4 separate regions of the Homo sapiens genome follow, and all the other regions are linked to region 4. The links are contacts of gene promoters, found by promoter capture Hi-C in blood cells and fetal thymus (Javierre and others, 2016). All regions are on one chromosome and are shown on one strand. The core of a region is centred on a gene start or on the middle of the fragment in contact, and the rest is flanking DNA. Distances in the headings are between cores, read along the strand shown.

Region 1 (2,700 bases), core at 1-2,500, 1.3 Mb before region 4:
ATTATACCATCCAGACACACAGTTGAAACATTTCCCCGAGTATTCTTTAAACACAATGTGCAAGATTGCAATGGCATCATGACTGACAAAAATGACAAAGACGCTGTTAATCAAGTAAATACAAAGCAGCAGCATGAATTATTTATGCCAATAATATTTGTAACCATACAAATTATATATTGATGTTATACTGGAGTGTTTAGTATTTCAGCCAACATACATCACACAATGTTCCCCCAACCTCGATGTTTCATTTCCTTGGATAGCTTTAATTCAGTGGTGGCACTCAAAACAGAACCACAGACACAATATCAGCTTTTTGTTGCTGTTGTCTCAAAATATGATTTCTTTCTTATTATGAAATAGTTATCCCAAAAAGCACAGCTGGGGCTGGTGTTACTTCAGAGCTTCCTACATGAAAGACCACTGAAACAGCCTATGCTGGAGAGATTATAGTTTCACTTTGCTTCATGTTTAGAGGGAAGGTGATATGTGACAATCACTGCTGAAATGGTCTTTACTGACTCTTGCATCAAGGTCAGAATAAAAACATTTTAGGGGAGGGACTACTAAGGCAATTCTTCTAAGGCAAGAACCTCAAATATTTTCCTTCATTAACCTAAAATAAGTTTCAGAGAAGTTTAAGTACACTGAATAACTAGGAAGCTTTTTACTTCTTCATCTATGAGATCAGTCATACTTACCTATGATTCCTCCATCTCAATAGAAAATAAACTCACACACCCACACACATATTCACACATGCATATACACCCACATTTACACACTTACTTTGAGCAGTTCAATTTCTGCTTGGAAACTGTGAAGATAATTATTTATCCTTAGTTAACCCCATCTTTCTAAGTTTAGAAGGAGCTACTCAGATACTGCCACAGTTGGGTAGGTCACTCACTAAATTTTAAGTTCCTTAAGGGCTGGGGGCAACTGGGTCATGAGAATACCCCCGTAGTATCAATATTTACAATACTGTTTGGTTACTAAGTTGGAGTGGATTCTTAATGAGCAATTGGACCACTTAGGAAAAGGCTAGAAGACAGTACTACATCTTCCTCACTGACAGCTACTTCCCTGTTCATACAGAGATGGAATGTATGTGGAGCACCACTATAGAGCGACTGTTAACATGGAGAGGAAAGAGGCCAGAGAGAAAATGCCTGGTGACTTCTCCAAAAATACCCACATCGTTAGTGAGGCATTCCCACCTAAATATCACACCAGCAATTGAAATCAGACCCAAAGTAAAATTCGTCTCTAATCGCCAACTATCTTTCTCAAATTCTCCTTATGCCTTTACATGTGTTAATTTCATTTCCTGAAATACCCATCCCCATCTTTTCTCACTCCTCTCTCACCCCTGCCTACTGCCCCAGCTGTTTCCTGACAGGTATAGTTGTTAGCCACAAAAAATAGGGGTTGAATCCTACCTCTATACCACTGTCTAGTTGGATGATTTTGGGAAAGTTACTTCACACTCAGTGCCTCAGTTTTTTAATCTACATAATGGGGATAATAAAGGTTCCTGCTTCATAGAGGTTAAATGAGTTAACAGATGTAAAGTGATTACAACAGAGTCTGGCACATAACAAGTGGATTTTAAATGATAGTCATTATTGTTCCTGTTATTTCATTTCACAATGGTACTTTGCAAGTGCATTTAATACAACACTCATTTGTTTACCTTTCTGGCTCTACTGCTAAGCTGAATTCAGGGATATTTCTCACTCACTCTGCATCCTCTGAGTACACTGCCTGATACATGGTAGAGACTCACTACATCTGAGAGGGAGAGATTGGGTTCTGGCTTACCCTAAGGACAAGCTTATTCTTACTGTGCCAGGGTTTGAAACCTCAGTCTTCAAGTTCTGCAACAATTCTTTTCTAATTGCGCACGTTTCCTACCTGTGTTGCCAACTCTAATAGTTCTAGCATTTACTTGCACTTCTGCATTATTCTTAGAATTTTCTAAGAGCCAGATACTTTTTAAAAAGAAAATAGTAATTATTGGCTTCACTCCAAGATCATAAACATCAAGTTCAAGCTCCCCTGCCTGGTACCGAGACTCATTTACAAGAAGATCCAGACAACTTTCAAACATCATTTCCATGACCTATCCAATACACACCCTCTAACTCACCTTGTGTGTCCTGTCTCCAAGCCTATGCTAAAGATGGGCCTTCACCCTGGAAACACTTATGTCCATCTGTTCAAATCTTACTTGTTCTTCAAGATTAAAACCAAATGCCATTTCCTCCATAAAAACACTTCTCAAAATTAATCTCTACCTCTCATGTGTTCCCAGAGCACTTTTTATGGGAAAGCTATTTTATTAAAATATTTATGACTGTTTTGACTTTTGTTATTTATATGTATTAAGTTCTTAAAGGAAAGGGACCATGTCTTAATCATGTCTAAATCCAGAAATGTGCCTAGAACAGTGTGCTACAACCTATTATATATAACTTTCAAACCCGAATTTAAAAGAAAAAATTAATTGACATGTAAGATGCTAGGACTCACATCTGTTTACAAAAAAAATTAGATTTAAATAACTAAGTTCCAATTATGTTTAATTCTCAGAATTACCTTTGAGCATTAGATTCTTGCCTGAACCCCTTAAAGAATTAAAGTCTGCTTTATGTGCTTTCCTTGACACAACAGGCACCCAAAACATTTGTTAAA
Region 2 (2,700 bases), core at 68-2,567, 1.3 Mb before region 4:
TACTTCTCTAAAGCCATGCAGCTAGCTCAGAGAAAAGTAGGAACTCCAACTCCTTCAGCTGTGGGAGGTGGGAACAACACAGGCCCTGTGGTCAGATACCTTCAGTTCTGTCACTCACTGGCTGTGTGACCATGAGGAAATCATTCAGATCTCTTTAGATCTCAGTTTCCACACTAAAATCAGAGAAATGATACTTAAGGCCGTTATAAGAACTAAAATAGCTAATGTGAAAGTTTTGTAAACCATATAGTGCTCTAAAAATGCTACAAACTTCCATTATTATTCTACATTTGGGATTTCTGACTTTCATGACAGAGATTTGTTTTTATCTTGCAATCCTCTGCTGCAACAATTATCAATTGATGGTGTCCCAGACCACTGTCAAAATACAGTGTACATTATTCAAAGACCCCAAATACCAAATGGTCACAAGCCTAGTGTGTTATTATGTCTGAAAGTGTTTGAGTGACCAAAGAATGACTGAAGCTCTCATCTAAACAGCAGAAGGAAAACCAGAATAACCCAACAAAAGGTATCATGTACACACATCAACTACCAGACAGGTTAAAGGTGGGCAACATCCTATGAGAGATGAGACTAAATTAAAGCACATGTTGGAACCTGCCTGTGGTCTGGGAAGAACAGCAGATACAGACAGCAGAGAACAGCAGGAACAGACAACAGAGACCGGGACACAGATATGAGAACTTCCTAAAGAAGGAAGAAGGGATGAGTCCATTAAAAGATGACAATTTAGAATGTCAAGAGTCCTCTGGTGTGTTCTAAAATGAGGCTGGCTACTTGTGTTGTTAGAGGCCTGAGATGATGTCTACATGTTTGGGTAATGATCTTGGATGATATGAACTGATAGCTAGGCCCAGAAGTAAGAAACAGGTACTGCCATAATAGTTATCAACCTTCCTGCCACAGTCTTGGGATGAGTTCCTCTGTCCTGGGCAAGTTGGCTGGGGCTGAAGCACAGAGCAAGGGCCATTGCAAGGTGCTCCTTATTAGGACATTTTTCATCTAACTTAGACCCACAGACTATGTGCACTTAGTTGGGGCCTAATTATCAAGAACCTGTATTCCACACATACACTATTTGATACTTAATATAAATAATGTACCCAATTTTATTTAGCAAAACTAGCAAAACTTGTACTCAAAATGAATGTTGTCTCTAGGCACTAATACCATTGATGTTTAAATCATTCTGAAATTACCTACATCACATCCCTTTGAATATAGAAAAATAATATGGCTCATCTTTGTTAAAAAGTATATTTAATTTTTTACATTTAATATCATTCTAAACGGGTAAGGAAGGTGAAAGATTGAGTTGGATAAAACTGTTAGAAAGTAAATATGATAACAGACCAAAAAGAAATTTTGTGGTTTGTGTATTTCATCACCAAAAGAAAGTAGCTCCCAAATTTATAGGGCAATTGCAACATTTTTGAAGGAAATACGTGCAATTCTCTAAGGTAAATGTTCATTTGCATAGATAAAATCTGGTATGCGTGTGTGTGTGTGTGTGCGTGTGTGTGTGTCATATCTCTTTACTTAACAGCCAAAACAATCTCCTATGTTACCTTCAGCCATTGTTTCCCCTCCCCTATAAATACATCTTCATTGCAAGCAGTTTGTGGGTGAGAAAATGCCTCCATTTTACCTATGTTCACCAGTTAGTTACAACCTGTTGGGCATACAGTAGGTGCTAAATAAATGACTGACTTTTAAGCCTCAAAACTTAACTATAGATAAGTGTTCCGAACACAAGAAGTAGAAAACTCAAGCTATATGGGCAGCCGATGAAAATTAACTGTGCACTTATATAGGCAGATGTAATTAAAAATGAGGGGAGGAGAAGAGAGGAATAAACAAAACCACCCCAAAAACTCATATCGTGTGCACGACATTATATCTGAAAGTGTCATAAATTTCCATTTTATAGCATTAGGAAGCTGCCTTATGTTAATTCAAGGTGGGTAACATGCATATTAAAATATAGCTGTGCTATCTCTGCATTGTTCTCCCAGCTTAGAAGGTAAAATACTGAAGCAAACATGTGGCCTACCAGTGGGAATTAAATTAGAGCGATATTTTACATCATTGCATAGCATTGGTTCTTTGACATTCACAATGTTAACTTTGATATAAGAAATCAGCTAGGTTAGTTTTATCTGTTTATCTGGGAGAAACTTAATCTGGGTTTTGTAAGAAAATCATGGGGTAGTGGAATGGGGAGAGCACTCGGTTCCTGGTGACACCATCTAAATCTTGAAGAACATAAAAATAAACAGCTAGGATTTCACCATGTAAGACAGGAAAAATGGGCACTTCAGAAAATTTAAATGGAGTAGGGGTGTAGAGAAGCATTTCATGTTTTAGAATGCATAGTTTTTTGGGGCCGAAGGAAACCACTCTTAGTCAACTTTAAGAAATAACTAGGGCCGGGCACAGTGGCTCGTGCCTGTAATTCCAGCCCTTTGGGAGGCCGAGGCGAGTGGATCACGAGGTCAGGAGTTCGAGACCATCCTGGCCAACACGGTGAAACCTCGTCTTTACTAAAGGTACCAAAAAAAAAAAAATTAGCCGGGCGTGGTGGCAGGTGCCTATAGTCCCAGCTGCTTGGGAGGTTGAGGCAGGAGAATGGCGTGAACCCAGGAGGCGGAACTTGCAGTGAGCCGAGATCACACC
Region 3 (2,903 bases), core at 212-2,711, 1.0 Mb before region 4:
TTTTGCTGGTGCTGGGGGTGGTGAAGGGAAGGGAAGAAAGTAGATATCTGGAAAGACCTGACCCTAGGGAGACAGGCAACAAGCAACATGGCAGAGAGGAATTAATGGTCATATTCTTAGGATATAGCAGTAAGGAAGGCACCAGAAGCTTGCTCCAAGCAGTACTAGCAAGTTCTGCTTATCTTGTTTTATGTCAGATAATCTAGTATTCCTTCCATTTGTAGAAATAATCATGGGGTGGCTAAAGTGTCATTCAAATTATGCCCATGAAGAGGCTAGATGCAACCAGCCTCCAAGAGCAGTCTCATTTAAATCTAGATAAAACCTATCAGATATTCCACATATTGTAATTCCCATTTGAATTCCTCGCTCAGCACCAATTTTCTCAGTTGGCCTTTCTTGCCCTTTCTTTTTATTGTTTATCTACCTTTGAAAATAACAAAGAAATGGAGTGGGAAATGGAAAATTACTCTGTTGGAAAAACTCACCTTCTTAAATGTGAGTTTTCAATGCGTTTAGAAATATAGTATAGAATTTCTGAGTGCACCCAGATATCTCCTCAAGCTAGTGTAACTGACAGAGCTCCCGGTTGGAGAGAAAAACACATTAACAGTAATACTTAATATTTACTGAGTACTTACACACCAGACAATTCTGCTAAAAGGTTAGATGCAATATCTTACTTAATGTTCAGAATAATCCTTGAGTAATTCCATCTTCTCTGTGTTACAGAAGAGCAAACTGAGGCTTAGAGAGGTAAAGGAATGTGCCCAAGGTCATGCAGGTCACTAAGGGTGGACACTGGATCAGTACTTCGGTCTGTCCACTAGAATTTGAGAACTTTGTTTTTGATAGTTGCTGTATCATTTACCATTCAAGTAATGCCTGGCATTGGGAGGCACTCAATAAATATTTGTTGAATGAGTGAATAAGTGAATGACTATCTGGCTCCAGAAGAAAATCTCTAGCAGGTGGGTAGAATCACATGCCTAATGGATAAAGCCCCTACACCATGGATTATGGGCTTGAGCCGGGAGGTGTCCACTTTCAGAAATGAATGGTGGCATAGAAATAGTATCCCATGACCCAGAAAAGCTAGGTTCTTATCTTGGCTCTTTAGCTGTATGACCTTGGGCCCATCATCCTCATGCCTTTCTGAGCTTCAGATGTCATTTCTGCAAGATGAGAGCCCTCAGAGTACCTCTGCATTCTCTTCCAACTCCAACAGCCTGTCAGTCACAAGAATTTTACACTTCAGAAATTGATCTTCTGGATAAACCACTCCAAGGACAAACCCCAAATGGTTTCCAGCTGTCAGAAGAGATTCATTCCCACCCCAAATACGGTACCACCTTCTCTGTCTCTCCAGATTCCCTACTGGGATGCTGCATTTAGTGTTTATTTCTTTTACTTTCTTTTCTTCCCCACTTTTCAACTTTTAATTTTGAAATAATTTTTTACTTACACAGAAAGTAAGAAAAAATTTCTGATTACCCTTCTTATAGTTTCCCCAAATGTTAACATTTTTCATGCCACAGTGAAATGATCAAAATCAGGAAGTTAACATTGATAAAATACTATTTTCTGACCTACAGTCCTCAAGTTCACCAATAGTCTCACTAATCTACTTTTTTTTCTGCTCCAAGATCCAGCCCAAATTTACGTGTTGCATTTAGTTTGTCTTGTTTTGTTTGTCTTCCTTGATTTGCAACAGATTCTCAGTCTGTCTTTGTCTTTCATGCCCTTGATGCATTTGGAGTATTGCCAAGGTATTTTTTAGAACGTCCCTCAATTCGGGTTGGTCTGGTGGTGATTGAGTTCAGTTTATACACTTTTACTAAAAATATCACAGAAGTGATTTGATTCCTTATTTTGCCTCTTATCAGGCACTGTGTGGTGTCAATTTGTCATATTACTCATGATGCTTTTTGTTGCTCTCAGTTTTATCATATTCTAGATGTTTTATCTAAAAGTAGAGTCATAATAATAATACCTGCCTCACAAAGTTGTTGTGAAGATTGAGTAGAAAAAAGGCCATATAAAGCACAATTCCTGGGATAGCAGGGCTTATCATTTTCATCTTTTTTTAAGTATATCAAATAATTAGGAAATTATTTGAGTAAAAATGGGAGTTTCTGACTGAGCTGGAGTTGGGGCATTTGCAAATCCACATTTTGCCTTTGCATTCACTGCTGCAGCTGTGCCCCCTGAAGTCAGGAGAATTCCAGCAGGCCCGGAAGGATCACAACTCTCAATGTTTCTCTGTAAGGGCAGCAAAAGTAACTAAAGTGTCATTTGAATGTTTGGCTATTGTAAGCTCAGTGGCAGGGGACATGTCTATTCAACCCTGGATCTGGCCTACAAGATGTCAGGTAACCTTTTCAAGGGCATGAGATGTTAATAGTTTTTGAAGTCAAGTTACTAGATATTATGTTTTTGCCTGGGTAAAACATACGATGAATGTATAAATCTGGGTTTTACAGGTGACATCTACATAGAGTGTTTATTTAACTAACTGCAGTTAGTTTATTTAACTAACTGATTGACATGTAGGTATTCTGTAATATTTTTCTATTAGTCTGTGAATAGGCAGTCCAATGAATTATTTATTGGGCTAACACATCCTGGTGCTTTTTTTTTTTTTTTTTTTGAACATTCTCTATTGGAAGTCATGGTTTTGCTTACTCAATTAACCTTCTCCTGCCCACATCTTCTCTCTTGAGGAGTAAACTACCAAAATACAAAGCAGCATTTTGGTGTACAGAGGAAGGGATCAAGCTTGCTCAAGATCTTATTCTCCTCCAGTTGTAATCTCTCCAAAATCACATGTAGAACCTTATTTTCTAATTGATTATAGGGCATGAGATGCACAAACACCAATTCACTATGCTTTTCTAGAAATG
Region 4 (2,700 bases), core at 117-2,616:
GAGAGCATTAGAACAAATCCTAATGCCTGTGGGGCTTACAACCTAGATGATGGGTTGATGGGTGCAGCAAACCACCATGGCACATGTATACCTATGTAACAAACCTGCACGTTCTGTACACGTATCCCAGAACTTAAAGTAAAATAAAAAAATTTAAAAATAAAGAAATCTGTTTGCCAGAATTCACAAAGAGCAATAGACCTCATGTGAGTTATGAATCTGAACTTCATCCTGCTGTGTGCTATTGGATAAAGACTCTAAGAGCTACATTACAGATTTTTTCGACAGGAAGTATCACAGTAACAAGGCCCTATTTAAAGGCTGTTGCTACTGCTGTGGAACAGATTTACCCATTTGTGTTTGAAAGCAGGAAAGAAATTTTATCATTCACCACTTAATTGGTTAGAATCTCTTACTGTGCACCTTTTAAAACCTGCTGCACATTGGACTCAAAAGGAAAACTGAACCAACGGTAATTGAGGAAATAGACTCTTTTATTTATTCATGGCTACAGTGTAAGCTCCAGTCCCTTTGGATTTTATTCCAAACCTTGTTATAATATAAAAAAGGAAGTTTACAAGACATGTCATTGCTGCTTTTACAAAAGGACATTCTATTTATTTTCGCAGGAATTCTCATGTCCCCATAAGCAGAGCTGTCACAGTGTGCACTACCTTAGGTTGTTTTATTGTTGTCATTGTTATTTTTTTCCATTTTGAGCTAATGTGTTTTATCTGTGAATAGTCTTTTACATTTTTGTATGCTGAAAATGGGCACCAAAGAACCTGTAAAAATTATCTTTTTCAATTGAATGTGCACAAATAAAAGTTTGGAAAAGGAAAACAAAAGAACTACAAAGCATTTAGCAGAAAGCTTTCATGAAGAGTTGCAATGGCTGATATTATAAAATACACATACTTTTAAAAACAAAAAATCCCTCAGGAGTTTTGTTGCCCACATCTGCTAGTAACTAGTGAAGCCAGTTGTGTAACTGCACTTAGTTTACACAATTTCTTGAACTTACAGTTTTGCAAAGACCTCAGTTGTTATGTGATTTAGCAGTTAGAGTGTACCCACAGAGAAAGGAAGCAGGAAAGTCTTCAGAGAGGGGCAAGCTGACATGCAAAGAAGCAGGTAACCAGACATTTGCTAAGCGCCTCGAAGACTGAGTGCACTGCACTGCACTGACCTGCTTCAGCTCGTTGGTAAAGTACACGTAAGTTACAGCCACACAGAGAGACTGCAGGAGCACTGTGAAGATCACGATCAGCACGCAGGTCTGTCCCAGGCTGGGTCCCCCCTGGACCTCCATCATAGCCATGATCCTGTCAGAGTCTGACTGCTGTAAGTCAGCCAGGCAGCCGGTCACTGAAGCCCTTCCTTCTCTATTCTTTTATAGTCAGTGAGGAAATGAAAGCGAATGAGTTGTTTTTCTGGGTTCTGTGGCCTTGGCCCCACCCACATCTATTGAACCTGCAACTGTCCCTCCCCTTTCCTACTGCCCAGGGACAGCTCTTGTCTCAAAGTAGTCGTTGGAAAGGAGGGAAACTGAAAGAAGCTCCTCTCCTTGCCCTCAGGATCCATGCACCCCTTATCTGCACTCACCTCAAGCCCATTTCTCTCTTCTCTTTCTTGCTCTCCTTTTGATAATGTCCTCAGCCAAAGAGGGGAGGGATTTTCTTTGCTTTTCCCTAACATATCCTCATTCTACCACAGAGCTCTAAGCCTCATGGCCTGGCTGTCATAGGCACAAGGCCTGTTTTCTAAATTATAAGATAATTTTTATGACCTGAAACTTCCATATGTGGTTTTTCTCATGCTACTGTGAGGGTGGGAAGAGGGCAGGGTGGGAGTGGATAAAGGAAAATAGAAATACTGTCTCATAGCAATGGTCTTGCTACATAATTCCATCTTGAATGTCAGAATCTAAATATTGACGACTTCTTCCTCTTTGCAAACCTTCAGACACAAATTCTAATCTCCTTCTCAGATCTCCATCCCTACCAAGACAACATGCCTGTGTGTTAGGCTGGACAGGTAGGAAGTAGTTGACACACTCAGAAAGGCAAAGGAAAAAAACATGTGGATGTTTTCCAAAATATTAACCCCATCACAATGTCTCGCTGTCACTATCCTTTTACAGATTAGGAAAAGAAGTTACAGGGAGTTAATTACCCTCAGATTCAGGACCCAGCCCCAAATCTCCCCACTATCAGATGTCATAAGCTGGCCCAGCTGTATGTTGTCTCTATATCTTATTCAGCATTTCTTTCTTTCCTTTTCTTCCTTTCTTTCTTTCTTTCTTTTCTTTTCTATTCTTTCCTTCTTTCCTTCTTTCTTTCTTTCTTTCTTTCTTTCTTTCTTTCTTTCTTTCTTTCTTTCTTTCTCTCTTTCATGTATTTATTTATTTTTTTGACAGAATCTCACTTTATCGCCCAGGCTGGAGTGCAGTGGTGCAATGGCACAATCTCGGCCCACTACAACCTCCACCTCCCAGATTCAAGCAATTCTCCTGCCTCAGCCTCCCAAGTAGCTGGGATTACAGGTGCATGCCACCATGCCCAGCTAATTTTTTTGTATTTTTAGTAGAGATGGGGTTTTACCATGTAGGCCAGGCTGGTCTCGAACTCCTGACCTCAAGTGATCCTCTTGCTTCAACCTCCCAACGTGCTGGGATTACAGGCATGAACCACTGCATGG

The links. Contacts are between HindIII fragments. The CHiCAGO score rates a contact against its expected background, and 5 or more counts as called.
Region 1: a fragment that was not itself captured here is called in contact with the fragment with the promoter of TNFSF10 in region 4 in 2 of 17 cell types (activated CD4 T cells and non-activated CD4 T cells); the score reaches 5.8 in activated CD4 T cells.
Region 2: a contact is called between a fragment that was not itself captured here and the fragment with the promoter of TNFSF10 in region 4, in 2 of 17 cell types (non-activated CD4 T cells and activated CD4 T cells). The highest score is 7.8, in non-activated CD4 T cells.
Region 3: a contact is called between a fragment that was not itself captured here and the fragment with the promoter of TNFSF10 in region 4, in 1 of 17 cell types (activated CD4 T cells). The highest score is 5.6, in activated CD4 T cells.

What each region holds. Positions count from the first base shown.
Region 1 is chr3:171,269,290-171,271,989 of GRCh38, forward strand. All of the region lies in intron 2 of TNIK (TRAF2 and NCK interacting kinase), which reads right to left. Among named protein-coding and RNA genes, the nearest start is that of MIR569, 160 kb to the left of the region's middle. The HindIII fragment of the contact is 1,173 bases long and covers 665-1,837 here.
Region 2 is chr3:171,250,544-171,253,243 of GRCh38, forward strand. The region is part of intron 2 of TNIK (TRAF2 and NCK interacting kinase); the gene reads right to left. Among named protein-coding and RNA genes, the nearest start is that of MIR569, 150 kb to the left of the region's middle. RefSeq lists an enhancer at 556-635. The HindIII fragment of the contact is 3,293 bases long and covers 1-2,700 here.
Region 3 is chr3:171,496,594-171,499,496 of GRCh38, forward strand. No RefSeq gene overlaps it. Among named protein-coding and RNA genes, the nearest start is that of TNIK, 38 kb to the left of the region's middle. The HindIII fragment of the contact is 2,630 bases long and covers 147-2,776 here.
Region 4 is chr3:172,522,064-172,524,763 of GRCh38, forward strand. It overlaps TNFSF10 (TNF superfamily member 10), which reads right to left and starts at 1,367. Exons shown (of 5, transcript NM_003810.4): 1 at 1,190-1,367. The coding sequence starts at 1,321. It also overlaps the pseudogene TBPL1P1. RefSeq lists an enhancer at 1,299-1,348. The HindIII fragment of the contact is 8,260 bases long and covers 872-2,700 here.